2 separate regions of the Homo sapiens genome follow, and region 1 is linked to region 2. The links are contacts of gene promoters, found by promoter capture Hi-C in human tissues and cell types (Jung and others, 2019). All regions are on one chromosome and are shown on one strand. Each heading gives the region's core, a stretch centred on a gene start or on the middle of the fragment in contact. The rest is flanking DNA. Distances are from core to core; before and after follow the strand shown.

Region 1 (6,515 bases), core at 100-2,599, 39 kb before region 2:
CATACTATATATATGTGTGTATACATACATGCACACACACACACACACATATATATATACATATTTTTTTTTAAGACAGTGTCTCACTCTGTTGCCCAGACTGCAGTGCAGTGGTGCCATCATAGCTCACTGTAACCTTGAACTCCTGGGCTCAGGCAATCCTCCTGTTTCAGCCTCCTGAGTAGCTGGGACTACGGCGCGTGCCACCACACCCAGCTAATCAGCATGATATGTTCTTATTAATTTTTAATATTTGTGGGTACATAATAGGTGTATATAAGGGTTACATGAGATATTCTGATACAGGAATGTAATGTGCAATAGTCACATCAGGGTAAATGGGATTTCCATCACTTCAAGTATTTATCCTTTGTGTTACAAACAATCTAATTATACTCTTTTAGTTATTTTTAAAGGGATGATTAAATTATGTTTTGCTGTAGTTACCCAGTTGTGCTAGCAAATACTAGGTCTTATTCATTCATTCTTTTTTCTTTTCTTTTTTTCTCTCTTTTTTTTTCTTTTTTCTTTTTGTTTGTTTTGTTTGCTTTTTGTTTTTGAGACAGCATTGCCCAGGTTGGAGTGCAGTGGCAAGACCTCGATTCACTGCAACCTCTGCCTGCTGGGCTCAGGCCATCCTCCCACCTCAGCCTCCTGAGTAGCTGGAACTACATTCACAAGCTACCACGCCTGGCTAATTTTTGTATTTTTTGTAGAGACAGGGTTTTGTCACGTTGCTCATGGCTGGTCTCAAACTCCTGAGCTCAAGTGACCCGCCTGCTTTGGCCTCTCACAGTGCTGGGATTACAGGCGTGAGCCACCACACTCAGCTTATCCATTCTTTCCAACTTTTTTGTACCCATTAAACATCTCCACTTACCACACCCCCCACCCCCCGCCCACTTCTCCCACTACCTTTCCCAGCCTCTGGTAACCATCCTTCTACTCTTTATCTCCATTAGTTCAACTGTTTTAATTTTTAGCTCCCACAAATAAGTGAGAACACACATTAACAAAGGTAACCTAAAACAATAAATAGAACATTATATGCAAACCCTAATTTTGTTTTTGGTTTTGGTTTTTTGGTTTTTGTTTTTGTTTTGAGACAGAGTCTCACTCTGTCGGTCAGGCTGGAGTGCAATGGCACGATCTTGACTCACTGCAACCTCTGTCTCCCGGGTTCAAGCAATTCTCCTGCCTCAGCCCCCTGAGTAGCTGGGATTACAGGTGCCTGCCACCACGCCTGCCTAATTTTTGTAGTTTTAGTAGAGACAGGGTTTCACCATGTTGGCCAGGCTGGTCTCGAACTCCTGACCTCAGGTAATCCACCCACCTTGGCCTCCCAAAGTGCTGGGATTACAGATGTGAGCCACTGCGCCGAGCCTGTTTCTGTTTTTTAAGACTGGGTCTTGCTCTGTTGCCCAGGCTGGAGTGCAGTGGCACAATCATAGTTCACAGCAGGCTCGAGCTCCTGGGATCCTGGGCTCAAGCAATCCTCCCACCTCAGCCTCCTGAGTAGCTGGGACAATAGGCATGAGCCACCATTCCTGGCTAATTTTTAATTTTTTTTCTAGAGACAGTGTCTCACTTTGTTTCCCAAGCTGGTCTTGAACTCCTGGGCTCAAGTGATCCTCCCACCTCAGCCACCCAAAGTGCTGAGATTACAGGCGTGAGCCACCACACCCAGCCAAACCTTAATTTTTTAATAGAATATCAACAATCTTAAAATGGTGACTCAGAACTTTTCACATTCTTTAGTAATTCTGTCCCTGGTACAGAAAATGTTCCAGAAGATCAAACAACATGGTAAAGACTGAAGGGAGGGGAGGTCTGACAGCCAGAGGTAAGTGTGTAATGGGGGGACATGCACATGGAGTGAGGTACAGTGAAATGCTAGAACTAGCTCCTGTTCTCTCAAGAGCCAATTGTTAAATACTCAAGAATTTTGTGAGCCAGTTGCTAAACTCTTAGAAGCTCGAAATTTACCACTGTGGGAATATTTACACCACAGAAGTCGACAAACACTACAAATCAGGGTAATTATCTTTTTCTTTTATTTGTTTATTCATTTATTTATTTATTTACTTATTTATTTATTATCTTGAGACAGAGTCTCACTCTGTTGCCCAGGCTGGAATGCAGTGGCACAATCTGGGCTCACCACAACCTCCGCCTCTCGGTCTCAAACTATTCTCGTGCCTCAGCCTCCTGAGTGGCTGAGATTACAAGCATATGCCACCACACCTGGCTAATTTTTGTATTTTTAGTAGAGAGGAGGTTTTGCCATGTTGGCCAGGCTGGTCTTGAACTCCTGAGCTCAAGTGATCCACCTGCCTGGGCCTCCCAAAGTGCTGGTATTAGAGGTGTGAGACACCGTGCCCAGCCTCAGGGTGATTTTCTTTCCTGGAGAGCCATATTTCTAGCACACTACTGGGTGAAGGTAAAGCCACTGGAACTTAGAAACATGCACAAGGAGCTTCTAAAGTACGAATAATGGTTTCTTATAGAGAACCAACTGTTGGGAATTTAGCCCAGCAAACAAACATGGTTCTAAATGATCTTCAAGACATTCCTCATCTCTTTACTTTTATTAAATAATCACAGTCCTCTTAAGAGGGTAAAGGTAGAAAGGAAACCATGTGTATTAGTTACAGCATTACATACTAGATATTAAATATGTATATTATCCTTTTAAATATGCTAGACAAAATTCATGGAATTGTTGGAGGTCTTTACTGAAAGGGAAAGTTTTTCTTCAAAACTATTTTTCTAGAATTGTATATCTTCAACAGTAAAAATTTGAGGAGGCCATAAATATAATTTCATAAAATTAAAAATTCCCTATTTGTCATTTAAAGATGATCAATAACTTTAAAAATTTTTTCCACCAGATACCTCTTATACAATGATCAATAACATTTTAAACCAAGATTTTACTGAGAACAAAATGAGAATCAATCAACTTGGAATCTAATAAATTCAAAAATATGTTACTAGAATAGTTCTTTTGTTAACATACTCCAAATAAAGCTATAATTAACTTATATATCCTTTAGGCATGAGCCAAGTAATTACTCATAATACTAATATATACTTCTAGATTTCCTTTCATTTTAGATAGTTTCAGAAACACAATATTTTTCTGCTAAAATTATTAAAATAAAATTACAGTAGAAATATTTTATTTCAAAATAATTACTTAGCACTATGTTTACGTAGAATTCTATTTAAAATATTGAACTAATTTTAATAACATTATCATTTAATATATATAAAGTGTATGTACCTGATTTGACATAAGTGTGGAAACACAGCTATAAAATGCATCCAATTTTTCAGGTTTAACACCTTCTAGTGCCTCCTTCTTGGTAAAGAGATTTATAACCTTTGGATACCATGTATTCATTATCTTCTCTTCTGCGTTTCTAGTTTGTATTGATAGATCAGTTTTCAGTGATTCACAGTCAATTGGACCTTTAGCTCTATTTATGAGAAAAAGAAATGTGATTTGAAGCAAATGATACATATTGGTCTTAAAACACAATTGTTGGGCCGGGCTCGGTGGTTCACACCTGTAATCTCAGCACTTTGGGAGGCTGAGGCAGGCAGATCACGAGGTCAGGAGTTCAAGACCAACCTGGCCAACATGGTAAAACCCCATCTCTACTAAAAATACAAAAATTAGCTGGGTGTGGTGGTGTATGCCTGTAATCCCAGCTACTCGGAAGGCTGAGGCAGGATAATTGCTTGAACCAGGGAGACAAAGCTTGCAGTGAGCCAAGATCGCACCATTGCACTCCAGCCTGGATGACAGAGCAAGACTCCATCACGGGAAAAAAAAAACAAAAAAAAAAAAAACCAAAAAAAACCCACACAATTGTTGAAACAAACAAGATACATTTTTTTAAACTCTAAAATCTAGAGAAAAGTGTTGAAGATTTAGGATTCCATTTTAAAAATTATACAGTCAAAAATATAGACTCAAGCAAGGAGACATTCAAATTTTAAATTAAACGGGATTTTACCTAATTCCTGTGAAGTCCAACAAAACTGTATCAGCAAATGTTGTATAACCAAGGTCCAGTAACATTTTCATAGTTGGATGAATAATGTGCAAATTAGAGAATATTTGATTTCTTGCCTGCACATAGCTAGAATGCCAAGGATTAGAATAATCTAGGCCTCTGGAAAAGCAAAACACCATATCAAACATGATGAAAATAATACACCCTAAACTTTAGGAAATAATGCTTATAACATGAAATTAGTATTGAAGTGAGAAAACTGGGGCTTGAGAAGAGGGAGCTGTGGTCAGCAATGGGAACCTTAAGATATATGCATTTAATAAAAACACATCAAGAACTCAAAACTGCATTATCTTCAGAGAGAACAGAAATAATTTGTGAGTAAGGCAGAGTGATGGGCCAGATCTGAGAGCTCTGCTAACTTCCACTGTGCTTTGGCTCAGTTATCCTGGTAAAAATGAAAGAACACAGTCTTTAGGACTAAAGAAAAGCGCTGGAGAAATCTGTCTGCCATACCCCAAAGCTTACTCAAGGCTAAGTTAAGCTATGCATTCATAAAGATCTCCCCAGTTATGTATGCAGAACTAAATGAGCATAGTAGAGAGAATACCTCTGAGGTAAAAACAAGAGTACTTTTTTTTTAGATGTGTTCAAAATACCTTTGAGCATCACAATTGTATACTTGAAGGTAAGATCAGTTTATTTTTTATCTATATCAAAAATTGGATGAAGTACTGTTTTTAAAATAATTTACTCACACAGGAGATTCAGGTAAAGGACCTCCTTCATCTTCAAGCGATTTAACTGGTGGTTTCACAAGAACGCTCTGCACTAAAATACATGGATATATTAATGCTTCTTGAAAATCTCTGCACAATCTATTAATATCAAAGTTTCTAACTTTTGATTTTGGATGGTATAGTTTACTGTGCATTAAAAGGAATGTAAGAAAAAACTCCTTTATTTGAAACAAAATCAAGTTCTTGGTAGTATTTTGGCCTTACTTGAGAGTTCAGATAACGAAAAGCTTTAATAAGATCTCAGTTTTTCACATTCCATCTACTCAAAAGTCACTAGCATGGCCACTTAAAAAAATGCATTTCATGGTGGCTACCAGGGGCTGGGAGGATGTTGGTCACAGGCTACAAAATTTCAGTTAGATAGGAGGGAACAAGTTCAAGAGATTACGCGACATGGAGGCCGAGCGCGGTGGCTCATGCCTGTAATTCCAGCACTTTGAGAAGCCAAGGAGGGCAGATCACCTGAGGTCAGGAGTTTGAGACCAGGCTAGCCAACATGGTGAAACCCCATCTCTACTAAAAATACAAAAATTAGCTGGGCATGGTGGCAGGCGCCTGTAGTCCCAGCTACTTGGGAGGCTGAGGCAAGAGAATCGCTTGAACCTGGGAGGTGGAGGTTGCAGTGAGCTGAGATTGCACCACTGCACTCTATTCTGGGCGACAGAGTGAGACTCCATCATAAAAAAAAAAAAAAAAAAAAAAAAAAAAAGAAAGCAATTATACAACATAGTGACTAGTTAGTAACAATTTATTGTACCCTTGAAAATTGTCAAGAGTAGATTTTATGTTCCCACCACACACAAAAAATGATAAATATGTGAAAAAAATGCATCAGTTAATTAGCTCAATTTAGCTATTCCACACATATTTCAAAACGTATTGTACATGATAATTATATACAATTTTTATTTGTCAATTTTTAAAAAGGAAAAAAGTTTATTCTAAAAAATAGCAAAGATTATACCCCTAATAAATCTCCCAAAACATATTAGTATTTTCTAGCAAACCTATAAATAGTATAGCTAAAATCATAAAGACAAAGTAAAAAATCAAAGAGAAGTTAGCTAATAAAAAAAATACAAAAAGTACCCTTAAATTGTAAGGATTTTGACTTAAGTATAGACTCAAAATAAAAACTTTAAATAAAAATCGTATCTAAGAAATACATATAGTTAAGGCTGGGCTGAGTGGCTCAGCGTGTAATCCCAGCACTTTGGGAGGCTGAGGTGGGTGGATGGCTTGAGCCCAGGAGTTTTAGACCAGCTTGGTCAACATGGTGAAACTACATCTCTACCAAAAAATAAAAAAATTAGCTGGGCATAGTGGTGTGTGCCTGAAGTTCCAGGTACTCGGGAGGCTGAGGTAGGGGAATCGCTTCAACTCAGCAGGCGGAGGCTGCAGTGAGCCGAAATAGCACCACTGCACTCCAGCCTGGGCGACAGAGATCATGTCTCGAAGAAAAAAAATAAAAAGAAAAGAAGAAAAAAACCAGATATAGTTTAAATACATAGTGTTCATTACTCATTTTGCTTATTTCTATTTTTGATTCAGTGGGGACGGGGGGAGGCCAAGGTGAAAGAAGCCTGGTGTGTGTTAGATGCTACTTACCCAAATATCTCTTCATGCTGTTTTCAAAGTCACTTGACACCTCATTTATGAGACTTTCAAGAAGTTCTTCTCTTTCTTTCCC
Region 2 (6,221 bases), core at 45-2,544:
TTGAGGTAAGTTGGCAGGGATTCCTGTTAGAACTCTAAAACTCACTTATGAAGCAATGAGCCAGTCAGTTCCCCTTCAGGGCTTGTTTCCTAATGGATGAAACTAAGGAATTGAATTAGATGCTCTGTAAATATCCCTACAGCTGTAGCATTCTGGGTGCAAAATTTTCCCGAGATGCAAACCACTACCACCACCACCACAACAAATCCAGTTGTTGAGGGATGATCCCCTTCCCAGTAAAAGCTGATATTTAACATCATTAATGGTTTTTTTTTTTTTTTTTTTTTTTTTGAGACAGATTCTTGCTCTGTCGCCCAGGCTGGAGTGCAATGGCGCGATCTTGGCTCACTGCAACCTCCGCCTCCCAGGTTCAAGTGGTTCTCCTGCTTCAGCCTCCCGAGTAGCTAGGACTACAGGTGCGCAACCACGCCCAGCTACTTTTTTGTGTTTTTAGTAGAGACAGGGTTTCACCATGTTGGCCAGGCTGGTCTCGAACTCCTGACCTCAGATGATTTCCCGCCTCGGTCCCCCAAAGTCCTGAGATTACAGGCGTGAGCCACCGCCCCCAGCCAATCATTAATATTTTTAAACATCAGTATGATATCTTAGTCTTGCTGCCTTCCAAGAAAGTGATGCTATGATCAAGCAAAAAATAGGCATACTTGATGCATGGCAAATATAAAATGTCATGTAAATGCTCAAAAATTTTACTGTGGGCCAGGCGCGGTGGCTCACGCCTGTAATCCCAGCACTTTGGGAGGCCGAGGTGGGCGGATCACCTCAGGTCGGGAGTTCGAGCCCAGCCTGGCCAACATGGTGAAACCCCATCTCTACTAAAAATACAAAAATTAGCCGGGCGTGGTGGCAGGCGCCTGTAATCCCAGCTACTCAGGAGGCTGAGGCACAAGAATCGCTTGAACCTGGGAGGCAGAGGTTGCAGTGAGCTGAGATCCCGCTACCGCACTTCAGCCTGGGCGATAAAGCGAGACTCCGTCTCAAAAAAAAATTGTACTGTGATAACAACTATATTTGCCATGAATGCCTACAGGATTTGGAGATTCCTGCCTTGAAAGAGTGTTTAAGTTGGCACCCAAATCGCGATACCTGCCCTGGGAGAGAAAGGAAGAGAACAGCAGAGAACAAGTACCTGATTGTTTCTCACTACTTCCCCGCTGCGCAGACGCCAGAGAGAGAGAGAGACAGTCAGAGCCTCTCCTCAGGTGAAAGGCAGGGGGATAACGAGGGAGAAACCTCCGGAACGCCACCGGCTCTCAAACGAGTAGCTGGAGAAGGGCGGTCGCTGACCGGTTGGAAACAACGTCGTCGCCATGGAAACTGTGGCGGCCCCAGCTGGAGGGGCTGGGTGAAGGTTGCCTGGAGAGGCAGTTGCCAAGCTGCAAGGGGTTAGGATTACCTGTCACAACAATAATTCGTTACTCAAGTAAATGGGGTGTGAGGTTTTGTTTGTTTGTTTTAACCTAACTGCCTTTCCTGGGAAGGGGACCAGGAAATTAGAATCTTCAAACTGTGGAAAACTGCAAGACTGGAAATTTAGATCTGTTGGAAAACAGATTTATGGAAACACTCTCAGCAAGAGAATCAAGTCTTCAAATGTCCCCTAGTGACACCCTGTAAATATTGTAACTAATCAGCAATATAATTTATCTTGCTTCTAGATTTGCTATTTGTTGACACAGCACTTCCAGGAATTCTTTGGCAAAATCAAACAGGTTAAGGTGTGTGAATTTAGTGGTATGCTGGGAGAAAGATGTGAAATTTTGCTGTTTGAAGCTGCACAATGCATACTACATCTAAATGATAATAGCCTACGAGAATACTATGTGCCAAAATTAAATTAGGGAAGTGAATACTGCCGGTGTGTTAACAGCATATTCATTCAACAAATATTTGAGCACCTTCTATGTGCCAGTTGCTACGTAATTTTTTTTTTTTTTTTTAATGAGAGTACAGCCTACACTATTGTGTCTGGCACAGAGTAGGTGCTCTAAAATGTCATTTAAGCGAGTGAATGAACAAGTAAAACTTCCTGGTAGTTTGTAAAAGCAAATTATCTTTCTGTAGAAAATAAAATACTTGTATAAATAATGTGACTTTTTTTTTTTTTTTTGAGACAGAGTTTTGATCTTGTTGCCCAGGCTGGAGTGCTCACCACAACCTCCACCTCCCAGGTTCAAGTGATTGTCTTGCCTCAGCCTTCCAAGTAGTTGGGATTACAGGCATGCATCACCAAACCCGACTAATTTTTTTTCTTTTCTTTTTTTTTTTTTTAGTAGAGACGGGGTTTCTCCATGTTGGTCAGGCTGGTCTTGAACTCCTGACCTCAGGTCATCCGCCCACCTCGGCCTCCCAAAATGCTGGGATTACAGGCGTGAACCACTGCACCATGCCACCTTTTCTCTTTTAAACTCAGTCCTATGACAGATTAGACAGTTTTTTTAATGTCAATTTGTTAGGGTTTATTTTTTAGAGACAGGGCTCTCGCTCTGTCACCCAGGCTGGAGTGCAGCGGCACCATCATAGTGAAAGGAGTCAGCTAGATTTTGCATTAGGTAGATAGCAAGGGAAGGGTCCCCAGAGAACCCCCAGCCCATGGGTCAGTGCCTCATCCCCACATAACATAAAAAGCAGCCTGGGAAAAAATTCAAGCGGCAGGCACCAATAAGGGAACTAGCACAGGGTGTTGTGCCTGGAGACATGCCCACGGCTCCACAGATAGAAAAATCTCCAGCCCATTTGGACAAAAACTTGCACAGACCTCCTCCTCACTCACATAAAGGAACAAAGAAATGCCTTTGTCCTTTGTATAGTCAATGGGCTCCCAGGGAAAAAAAAGTTTATTTTCCTTTTGTGGGTATGGGCACAGTGGGCTCCAGTAGGTTCCAGTGGGCACTCTACTTTCCTTTATTTGGATTGTAAGTCCGGCTTCTAGGAATCATCACTTCAGCTCCTGATTTGTCCTGGGCCAAGGTCCAGGGCCAAACTTTCTCTTCAGTTCCTGATAGGTCCCGAGCCAAGCTAAGCAGCATCTATGAATCATCATTTCAGCTCCTGATTAGTACCAGGCCAAGCCCCAGGGTAGCGGGGTCGGGGGACGAAGCACATTCCTTCCCCTTCCCAGTCCATAAAAACCCTGGACCCCAGCCTCATAGGGGGCACCCCATTCAGGTCCCCCTCTCTGCTGGCAGAGAGCTTTCTTCTTTCTCTTATTAAACGTTCGTTCTAAACTAACCTTTGGGTCTGCGCTCCTTAATCATCTTGGAGGTGGGACAAATAACTCCAGGTGTTATCTCAGACAATGAGAAACTGTTACATCTTGGTGCATTGCTGAGACTACAGCAATAGCTCACTGCATCCTCAAACTCCTGGGCTCAAGGGATCCTCCCACCTTAGCCTCCTGAGTAGCTGGGACTACAGGCACACACCACGACATCGGCTAATTTTTAAAAATATTTTGTTGGGACAGTGTCTTACTATGTTGCACAGGCTTGCCTCAAACTAGTGGACTCAAGCAATCCTCCTGCTTCAGCTTCCTAAAAGTGTTGGGATTATAGGCATGAGCCACCATATCTAGCCTGAATGTCAATTTGGTTAGGCTAAATTAGAAGAACTAAAGAGAAGGCAGCAATCTTGTGTATGATATACCCACCTTCTCCCAGTCATTAATCAAACACTAATCTAGGGCTGCTGTGAGGAGATTACAGCTCAATTCAAGTCCCTGGTCAATTGACATTGATCTAAGAAGATTATCCTGGGTGAGCCTGACTCAATCAGTAGAAATCCTTTTAAAAAGATTTAGGCCTGGCAAAGTGGATCAACCCTGTAATCCCAGCACCTTAGGAGGCCGAGCCAGACAGACTTCTTGAGGGAGTTTGAGACCAGCCTGGGCAACATGGTGTAACTCTGTCTCTATTTTAAAAAATTAAAAATTAAAAAAATAATAATAAAGAGATGGGCATGCCCTGAGTCAAACTCCAAACAGCAGCTGGGTCTATAACTGCTCTCCATTTTCTGGTTCTTCCCTTCCTGACAGATAGTCTGCCCTACAGACCATGGACTTGGTTAACCAGCCCCCTCCATTGCATAAGCCAATTCTTTGTTTAAAAAAATATATATATATGTATAGACATACACACACACATATATAGATATAGATATAGATATAGATATAGATGATATGTATTATATCTTAGTGGTTCTGCTTCCCACTTTGAACCCTGACTGATACAATGTACGTCCTTTTTTTTTTTACTTTAAAAAAAAATTTTATTATAGAGACAAAGTCTCACAATGTTGGCCAGGATGGTCTTGAACTCCTGGCCTCAAGCAATCCTCCTGCCTTGGCCTCTAGATGTGCTAGGATTACAGGTGTGAGCCACCACGCCTGGCCGATGTACATCCTTTTTAATAGCCAATGTTTCCAAAAGTGTGTTCTTTTACAAGAACAGATTCCTCTTGAGCTTATACAAATAAATAATATTGCCATAAAACAAGAATACTCATGAATAGTTTCCTAATTCTGGAGATATCAGGTAGAGAGAAAGATAAATATTTCAATTTTACTCACAAAATATACCAAAAAGTTACCAAATTGCTATAAAACTACAGATAATGCAGAGAAAAAAAGTTTTCTTAACTCTGAAAGAAAATAATAATAAAAAGCAACGTTTCAAGCAAAAAAGTCATTAAAATCATTTCAGTCCTCATCAGTTCCGTCCCATGTAATTAATTTTTGTTCTACTTGATAAATTAGCAATTTTAAGTCCAGTTTTTACCATTGGAGTTTCTCAAGTTCTTATTCAGTCCAACTTAATAATCAACAGAGGCCTGTATTCCAGAGTATGTATCAGACTTTTTATCCTTCTCATAAACCTCTTTGAAGACACAATGCTTTAGGATTATATTTGCTTGCAAAGATCATTTAGAAAAAACATTAGAATAAAGCAATTTACTACGAACAACAAGATTTAGAATGGCTATGGTGAAAGACCTGGTAAGAGTTTACAACAATGATGCGATTGACAAGGAAATTTGTTTTTTTCTGTAGTCTATAACAAGTTTACATAGTAGCCATAATTATGACTGATAACATACAAAAAGACACATCAGACTTTTAGGAATCTCATATACTTTTAAAACACATATTAATAACATGTTCATATAAATGTAATGCAAAGGTTTCCTGTATAATTTACATATCAAATAAGCCTAATACGTCTCTCTTAGGCTTCCAGGGGCCATTCTGGGATAACCTAAGGTTAGTTTGAGGCCGAAAAGACTTAATTTAGAATTTGAAATTTGACTTTGGGAAGCCTGTCAAGTATGTCAAAGGATAAAAACACTCAATTAAAATAGAAAAGGCCAGGCTCAGTGGCTCAAACTTGTAATCCCAGCACTTTGGAAGGCTGAGGTGGAAAGATCACTTGAGCCCTGGAGTTTGAGATCAGACTGGGCAACATCAGGGGACTCTGTCTCTACAGAATATTTCTTAGCCAGGCGTTGGTGGTGTGCACTTGTGGGCCCAGCTACTTGGCAGACTGAGGGGGGAGGATCACTTGAGCCTAGGAGGTCGAGGCTGCAGTAAGCCATTACTGCACCACTGCACTCCAGCCTGGGTGACAGAGTGAGACACGGTCTCAAAAAAATTGTTTTTAAATGAAAACAAACGAGGAAAGTTTTAAGACATTTGATCAAAAGAAGATCATAGGTCACTGTAAAATAACAGTTATTCATTTAGCCAAAGTGAAAATTTAAAAGATTTTACAAAGCAGTGCTCATTTCGGCAGCACATAATATTAAAACTGAAATGATACAGAAAAGATTACCATGGTGCCTGCATAAGGATGACACACAAATTTGTGAAGCATTCCATAGTTTTTTTAAAAAAAGATTTTATAAAGCAAAATCCTTCACTTTTTCATAGAGAGAAGACTCAGTTTTCCAAATAATGAAAAGATCTAACAAAGAGAGCAGGGCCGGATGCAGTGGCCTGTGCCCATAATTCCAGGTACTCAGGAGGCCAAGGTGGGAGGATCACTTGAGCTCAGGAGTTCAAGGCTGCAGTGAGCTATTATGGCTGCACTTGTGAATAGCCAATGCACTCCAGCCTGGGCAACAGAGTGAGACTATGTTTATAAAAAATATTTTTAATTAAAAAATTTAATCAGGCCAGGTGCAGTGGGCCACAGCTGTAATCCCAGCAC

Evidence for each region. Contacts are between HindIII fragments. The study calls those that stand out against the background at their distance.
Region 1: a fragment that was not itself captured here is called in contact with the fragment with the promoter of DNAH12 in region 2 in 1 of the 25 tissues and cell types used here (mesenchymal stem cells).

What each region holds. Positions count from the first base shown.
Region 1 is chr3:57,504,357-57,510,871 of GRCh38, forward strand. It overlaps DNAH12 (dynein axonemal heavy chain 12), which reads right to left. Exons shown (of 74, transcript NM_001366028.2): 5 at 6,434-6,515; 6 at 4,784-4,856; 7 at 4,026-4,184; 8 at 3,287-3,482. Among named protein-coding and RNA genes, the nearest start is that of DNAH12, 37 kb to the right of the region's middle. The HindIII fragment of the contact is 5,615 bases long and covers 1-4,157 here.
Region 2 is chr3:57,543,050-57,549,270 of GRCh38, forward strand. It overlaps DNAH12 (dynein axonemal heavy chain 12), which reads right to left and starts at 1,295. Exons shown (of 74, transcript NM_001366028.2): 1 at 1,148-1,295. It also overlaps the pseudogene RNU6-483P. RefSeq lists an enhancer at 883-1,433. The HindIII fragment of the contact is 14,626 bases long and covers 1-6,221 here.